Regions from separate parts of the Homo sapiens genome. Here region 1 is linked to region 2. The links are contacts of gene promoters, found by promoter capture Hi-C in blood cells and fetal thymus (Javierre and others, 2016). All regions are on one chromosome and are shown on one strand. The core of a region is centred on a gene start or on the middle of the fragment in contact, and the rest is flanking DNA. Distances in the headings are between cores, read along the strand shown. Region 1 holds the start of RPL34 (ribosomal protein L34). Region 2 holds the start of TET2 (tet methylcytosine dioxygenase 2).

Region 1 (3,750 bases), core at 1,251-3,750, 3.5 Mb after region 2:
TGTAGGTGAGTATCATCCAATTTGTTGAGGGTCTGAATAGAAAAACATGCGGAGGAGAGTGAATTTTCTCTCTGCTTAAGCTGGGACATTCATGGTCTCTGTTCTTGAATATCAGCACTCCTGGTTCTTGGGACTCTGGACTCAGACTAGGGCTTATACGACCAGCTGTCCTGGTTTTCCAGCTTGCAGATGGCAGATTGCAGGGCCTCTCTGCCTTAATCACATGAGCCAATTCCTATAATAAATAAACAAATAAATGTATACCCTATCAGTTCTGTTTCTCTAGAGAACCCATGCACACCTTAGCTGTTCAAGTTACCCCCCAGTTGAGGCTCCAATCATTACATAGTAAAGGCAAACTATTCTCATTATACCATGTAGAAATTCCTGATCCATAGAATCCATGAGCATACTAAAATGATTATTTTATGCTTAGTGGCATAAAGTACTGAAAGCAAGAAAATCAAGAAAAAACAACTGCCAATAACGAGTTCTATTTTTAGCATAACAAAAGCTGTTGGTGTCTTGCAACACATTCCTTCATTCCACTTCTAATTTTGGCTTCCTTTGTAGTCTACTGATTAGTAATCATAATCACATGTACAAAACCCCTTAAAATTTTTTTTTTAGAGACAGGATCTCTCTATGTTGCTCAGGCTGGCAACTTCAGTGGAAGTGCAGTGGTGCAATCTTGGCTCCCTGCAACCTCCACCTCCCAGGCACAAGTGATTCTCGTGCCTCAGCCTCCTGAGTATCTGGGATTACAGGCACCTGTCACCACGCCCAGATAATTTTTGTATTTTTAGTAGAGACGGGGTTTCGCCATGTTGGCCAGGCTGGTCTTGAACTCCTGGCATCAAGCGATCCACCTGCCTTGGCCTCCCAAAGTGCTGGGATTACAGGGATGAGCCACCACACCCGGCCTAAAGAATCTCATTTGTTTTTTTAATCTGTCTTTGTTCTCTGTTCATTAATTTCTGTGTGCACTTAATAAATATTTTACAAATTTTTGTGAAATTAAAATAAGGTGAACCTATCATACTTTTTTTGGCTTGGACTGGGAAACTTTGAGGTTTAACATTTTTTTATTTAAGGGTTTTTTGATAAAAGCTATTAATTGTAATGTGGTCAGATTTATTGGTCTTTTCTGAGTTTGTGCTTTTTGTGCCTTGTTTAAAAAATCCTCTTCTACTCCAACGTCTATAAGATAGTCACCTATATTTCCTAATAAATTAAAGCCTTATTATTGACTCATTTAAGGTTTTTTTTTTCAGTGTAGAGTGACTTAAGGATACAATTTTTTCTTTCCATATGTATAACCATTTTTCCCAACTTCATTTACTGAATAGTCACCAATCTTTCCCCACCAATCTGATATATTACCTTTGTCATATACCAAAGTTTCATACATTTATTATTATTATTATTATTATTGAGATAGGATCTCATTCTGTTGCCCAGGCTGGAGTATGGTGGCACAATCATGGTTCACTGCAGCCTCAAACTTCTAGGCTCAAGTGATCCTCCAGCCTCAGCCTCCTGAGTAGGTGGGACTAAAGGTGTGTGCTACAACACCTGGCTAATTAAAAAAAAAAAATTTGTAGAGATGGGCGTCTCGCTATGTTGCCCAGGCTGATCTTTAACTACAGGTCTCAGTGATCTTTCTGTATCAGCCTCCCGAAGTGCTAGGATTAACAGGCATGGGCCACTGTACCTGGCTGTCTTTGAAGTTTTTAATAAGATTGCCATATCTCTCTCAAGACTGATCAAGAAAAAATGCAAATACAAATTTAAAGAGAGGGAAAAATAGTATTATGGAACTGGGTTAAGTACCTTAAGGGAAAACTACAACAATGAGACCACTATTCTTATCTACTTGGGTGGGGGAAGGCACGGACAGAGACGTAAACAACAGCATAGTGTGCCAAGGGCTCCCATCTCCTGTTCTCTTCTGCTCTGCAAAGTCTCTCTTAAAATATAGAGAACATATTGCAAGTAAATACATTCATTAGTGCATTTATTCAAAAACCACATTTGTCTCTCTATGCAAGCTTCCATCTCAATGCCTGGCACAGAGACGAAAAGGATTTCAGAGGACAAAAATCAAAGGACTGGAAAGGAGGGAAGTAGCTGATGACAAGGTCGGGGGAGAAGCAGCTATTTGAGAGTGAGCAGAGGGAAGGATATAACCAGAGCCTTCCATCTGGTGTTGTGACAAAGATGGCAGTGATGTGAGGCTTGATAGAATCAATAGGCCTCACAGTTCAAGACAGACTACATGCCCTCAGTCACTTGCCTGCTTTCTTGGTTTGCTAGATGGATTAGAAATACTAGAAGGAAAGTTGAGTGGGTACTGGGATATCCTATCCAAATCCTCTCTTCTGGGGCAATGCAGCTGCCTCACAGCAACCACGTTGTGGATCACCTGACCCCGCCTTTCTCAGCTTCCTGGAGGTGCATTCTAAGAGCGCTCCCCATAAGCCAACACTCAAGTCTCTTCGAGGTGTGTTTCCAGGGAGCCTGATCTAAGATTAAAAACTTAAAGGCCCCTTTTAGAATTGTCTTTTACAGCCCAGGCAAAGAGTTCTTTACTTTTTTAGAGGTCATGAATCCCTTTGACAAGGTGATGAAAGCCAGGGACCCTCTTCTCAGAAAAATACACACGTGCGCTTAATGTAAAATTTTACATACTGTTTTAAAGGTTAAACTTTACCACCCATGAAAAGCCTCAAGTAGTTCTTTGTACATAATCATAAGATTAGCAACCATTTACTGAGCACTTCCTCTCTATAAGACCCTGTGCTAAGTGCTTTAACTTCATAATGCCTTTGATCATGACATAACATGGCACGGTAGTTCCTAATATCTTCCTTTTAGAGATTTAAGGGCTTGCTCAAAGTAACATAGCTAATAATTAGCAGACACTGGATTAAAATCCCAATTTGTTTGTAAAGCTTGTGCTCTGAATAAATGACAAGGAAAGAGAAGGGAAGGTTGAAGAAGGGAAGGTTCTTGAAGGTCCCTGGTCCTTGAAGGTCCCTTAACCATAAATGTCAAGAGTTGGGATTTAAACCCAGGTCTAACGCCAGAGCTGGCGCCCTTTAGATTAAAAGTGCAGTGTCCATGACAACGAAAGAAGTTGATTTTGTCCCACCTTTGCTCTTTGCGGCTTTTCATTTGCGTTTGTTTCCACAGCGATTTCCAATAGATTTCTGCGTGGCCTTGACACAGACAGCTAGTGTGAATCCCCGCCCACAGAGGGGCGGCACGTTGGTTGCCGTACAACGTGGTGGTTCCCTGCATCTCTGCCCACGTCGGAGAGGTGCGTCGGCTTCCGTACAACACGGATACTCTCTCTCTGACGCAACTTCCTGTCCTGCGCAATTCTATTTGACCTTTGAACTGGCAAAGGCTTTTTTCTTCCTCTTCCGGGGACGTTGTCTGCAGGTATGGATGTTGTTCTCTTTTCCCTGTCTTTATTTCCTTACCAATCGGCTGCCATCCGAGGAGCTGAGGAAGCCTAGAGCTCTCAGAAGCAGTCCTTTGAGCTGGTGTAGGGGTAAGGGGCACAACAGGGAGGTTGGTGGTGAGGAAGTTCCTTACTTTGATCTTTGGAAATCCCTTGTTCCTGGTGGCACCTCCAAAGCCGTGAGTAGCCACAGCTCACCACCCGGGACTTTGCTGCATTCCAAGTGTAGCGTTTGGAGACTAACGAGTTGTGGTTTGGCGGTTTGAGTCTGGAAAATCGCC
Region 2 (3,931 bases), core at 852-3,351:
AAAAATACAAAAAATAGCTGGGCGTGGTGGCGCACGCCTGTAGTCCCAGCTACTCCGGAGGCTGAGGCAGAAGAATCGCTTGAACCCGGAAGGCCGAGGTTGCAGTGAGCCGAGATCGCGCCACTGCACTCCAGCCTGGGTGACAGAGAGAGGCTGTCTCAAGAAAGAAAGAAAAGGAAAGAAAAGAAAGAAAGAAATAAAGATCACAAAGAACTTTCAAACAGCTTAGATTTTAAAGTGCATTAACAATTTCCAAGACCTAAGTGACGCTTTAGTGTACAGCTAGAAAACATGGAATGTCATTCCCACCTGAAATGTTTAAGGGAAAATGTACTATTTCCTTAGTTTGTGCAAAATCTGAAATCTGAGTCAACTTTGTTTCAAAATGGAATAAACAAAGTTTGATTGGACCCACTAAACATTCTTCTTAGCAACAATGCGACACTTGCAAGGAGTTCCCTTTTTCACACTCTTCAAAGAGGAAATATTCCGATTTCGTAAAATTAGGGCTTCGCTTTTAAAAAAAATTACAGACCAAAAAAAGTGTGGTTACACAATATAACTAGTATTGACTTAAGGGTACTGTGATCACCATGCAGTGATCCCATAAAAGATGTGACCAAAATACCCACTTAAAATTTGAACGTCAGTCATGTAAGAACATGTAAAAGATGAAGGGAATATTTCAAAAACGACTATCTGACGTAATATGATACTTACTATGACTCATATGGGCTTTGTTCTTCATCTCATCTTCAAATAAAAAGTTGATGATTAGAAAAAGGAGCATTAGAAGGGGGAAGTAACACTACTCGGCAATAGAGAAAAACTCCGGTCAAAGGAAGAGCATAGTTACAGAGCTCCGAATGTCAGGGAAAATCAAGCATCCGTCATTCGGAATTAGCTCTGTATCGGTCGGTTTCTTCATTACTTAATTGTACGGGGGGAAACTACTTCAAAGTAAGGGCTCTTACGAGAGGCAACTTAAGCATTTGAAAGTGCAGGTTTATTTCCTCCTAGCGAGAAGTAGGGGGTCACTAGTGAGAAACCTATTTCAATCTGTGAGACGCCCCCTTCTACTCAGCCCACGTGGCTAAAGTAAACAGAAGGTGGGCCGGGGCGGGGAGAAACAGAACTCGGTCAATTTCCCAGTTTGTCGGGTCTTTAAAAATACAGGCCCCTAAAGCACTAAGGGCATGCCCTCGGTGAAACAGGGGAGCGCTTCTGCTGAATGAGATTAAAGCGACAGAAAAGGGAAAGGAGAGCGCGGGCAACGGGATCTAAAGGGAGATAGAGACGCGGGCCTCTGAGGGTAAGGTGGGCGCAAGCGGAGGTGTGGTGCGGGGAGAGGTGCCAGTGGGTGGAGGCGGGGGCCAGAGCGAGGGCACGTGCGGGTACACTCCGGAGGAGGTGGGTGCGCGCGGGGGCGTGTGCGCGGGACCTCGAAGTGGTGGTGGAGTGCAGACCAGCAAAAAGTTTCAAAGGGAAATCTTAGATGTCACGTCTTTGTCCAGGCACCCGTGCCATCCCAACCTCCCACCTCGCCCCCAACCTTCGCGCTTGCTCTGCTTCTTCTCCCAGGGGTGGAGACCCGCCGAGGTCCCCGGGGTTCCCGAGGGCTGCACCCTTCCCCGCGCTCGCCAGCCCTGGCCCCTACTCCGCGCTGGTCCGGGCGCACCACTCCCCCCGCGCCACTGCACGGCGTGAGGGCAGCCCAGGTCTCCACTGCGCGCCCCGCTGTACGGCCCCAGGTGCCGCCGGCCTTTGTGCTGGACGCCCGGTGCGGGGGGCTAATTCCCTGGGAGCCGGGGCTGAGGGCCCCAGGGCGGCGGCGCAGGCCGGGGCGGAGCGGGAGGAGGCCGGGGCGGAGCAGGAGGAGGCCCGGGCGGAGGAGGAGAGCCGGCGGTAGCGGCAGTGGCAGCGGCGAGAGCTTGGGCGGCCGCCGCCGCCTCCTCGCGAGCGCCGCGCGCCCGGGTCCCGCTCGCATGCAAGTCACGTCCGCCCCCTCGGCGCGGCCGCCCCGAGACGCCGGCCCCGCTGAGTGATGAGAACAGACGTCAAACTGCCTTATGAATATTGATGCGGAGGCTAGGCTGCTTTCGTAGAGAAGCAGAAGGAAGCAAGATGGCTGCCCTTTAGGATTTGTTAGAAAGGAGACCCGACTGCAACTGCTGGATTGCTGCAAGGCTGAGGGACGAGAACGAGGTCAGAGCGCTTCTCTTATGCCGCGAAACTCTCCCTTTCTTCTCCCCTTCGCTTTTTCTCGGGCTTCCAGGGACTGGGGAGCAAACCCTGTAGTGTCACCCACAAATACCAAGAGGGAAGAGGGAAGCTTCACAAATTACTGGAGCCTCTTCAACATGGCTGACAAATATAGTTTTAATTCCCTCTACCCCTTTTAAACCTGTAGTTCTGTGTTCTCTTCTCTCCTCCTAATGCTCGTCCCCTCATCTCCCAGAAAACTTACCTTTGTGCCTCCGACGAGCCGGTTTCCCGGCCTTTTTTAATCCTCAGAAAAGTGATTTTTAAATTTGCTTTCCTTTCTAAAATAGTTCAGCTTTGGGGGCACTACTTTTCCCTTTAATCCTCTTCCCCTGTTTCTTTCGTGTAAGTGAAACGAGTCTCCCGTTTATCCTGAACAACCTCAGAGAGAACACTGATAGGGTGTTTTTCGACCCTTTTATCAGCTGTAGGGTCTGGGTCTGGGTTTGTGTCTGCCTCCTCCTACCTTCTTATCCCCCTTTAGGGGGCTGTACGAAGTGAATGTCACAGGGAGTGGAATTGGAGTACACTGAGTGGGTTTTTTTTTTCCTTAAGTCCGCGCGTTTTGTTAGCGGCGCTGAGTGAAAGAGGAAAGAATAGTTTCTCTGGTTCCCCAAACAAGACCAGAACTCACTTTTCTCAAGGTACATAAGTCAGCGCTGGGCTGAGCCTTCCAGCCTGGGGAATGTATGTAAGAGAATTTATGGACAAATCTGTGTCCCGGCTTTGTGCTTCTCCCGAATCAGCTTCGTTTGGTTCCTTGGTAAGTGACAGGCAGACACAAAGGCAGGCGCAGGCCCGGGGAGGGGGCGGGAGGGGGTGGGGAGCGCAGCGTTGGAGTTGCAAGACTGCAAGGTCAGGGGCGCCTAAAGAAATGAAACCCAATCCCAGCAAAGAAGTGAAGAGCAGATTTATAACAGTCCCATCCAAATTTCTCTTTGGCTTCTCTCTTTGGTCTTTCATCTCTCTGCCTTTCTCTCTGTGTCTCCTCTCTACTCTTTCTTCTCTCTCTCTCATACACATACACACACACACACACACACACACCTCACTCGCATCTTGCTGAATCTTTTCACTGGGACTGCTTGTCTAGTTTTATTAAGCTAATAGGGTTTGTATGGAGAGTTTTCTACCTATGACATAATGAAGTGTGGCCTGGATAGACTCCTGGAAAGGCCGAAAATGAAATATAAGTGTTATTTGCTGGTTATTCCCCTCATGATATACTTTTAATTACATTGAGGGAGTTCTCCCTTCTTCATCTAATGTTTAAGAATTGAGAAAAGGCTTATTTTCCAGCGGTAAAATTTAGTGCATAAAATTTAGTGAAATATTTATATATTTACGTGTCTAGGGAGTGGAATACATTCATGAATTTAATATCTCAAATCACACATTGTGCTTTTTCCCCTTCAGTCAGGGATTATAATGGGAAACCCAAATTCAAAGATATTCATCAACAAATGATCCATCATAGGAATAAGATTGTATCTTAAGGGAAGTTGGGATTCACAGAGAAAAGACATTGGTTTGGTTTGGTGTGATACTGTGGGTATTGTTGCCTGGCTAATGAAATCATTACATTTGCATTTTAATGGAAAGTTGAAATACTAAGGGGAGTTATGTTCTTTTACATGTTTGTATGTGTGCTTAATAATGTTTGGAATAG

What was found. The method cuts DNA at HindIII sites, captures the fragments that hold promoters and counts their contacts. A CHiCAGO score of 5 or more calls a contact.
Region 1: a fragment that was not itself captured here is called in contact with the fragment with the promoter of TET2 in region 2 in 1 of 17 cell types (total B cells); the score reaches 5.7 in total B cells.

What each region holds. Positions count from the first base shown.
Region 1 is chr4:108,617,154-108,620,903 of GRCh38, forward strand. It overlaps RPL34 (ribosomal protein L34), which reads left to right and starts at 3,423. Exons shown (of 5, transcript NM_001319236.2): 1 at 3,423-3,447. It overlaps RPL34-DT (RPL34 divergent transcript), which reads right to left and starts at 3,304. Exons shown (of 4, transcript NR_026968.1): 1 at 3,155-3,304. RefSeq lists enhancers at 2,961-3,750, 3,386-3,435. The HindIII fragment of the contact is 903 bases long and covers 2,050-2,952 here.
Region 2 is chr4:105,144,775-105,148,705 of GRCh38, forward strand. It overlaps TET2 (tet methylcytosine dioxygenase 2), which reads left to right and starts at 2,102. Exons shown (of 11, transcript NM_001127208.3): 1 at 2,102-2,205. It overlaps LOC124900868, which reads right to left. Exons shown (of 3, transcript XM_047416559.1): 2 at 721-2,187. The coding sequence ends at 1,499. RefSeq lists silencers at 1,364-2,043, 3,007-3,076 and enhancers at 2,114-2,283, 2,627-2,676. The HindIII fragment of the contact is 4,110 bases long and covers 1-2,330 here.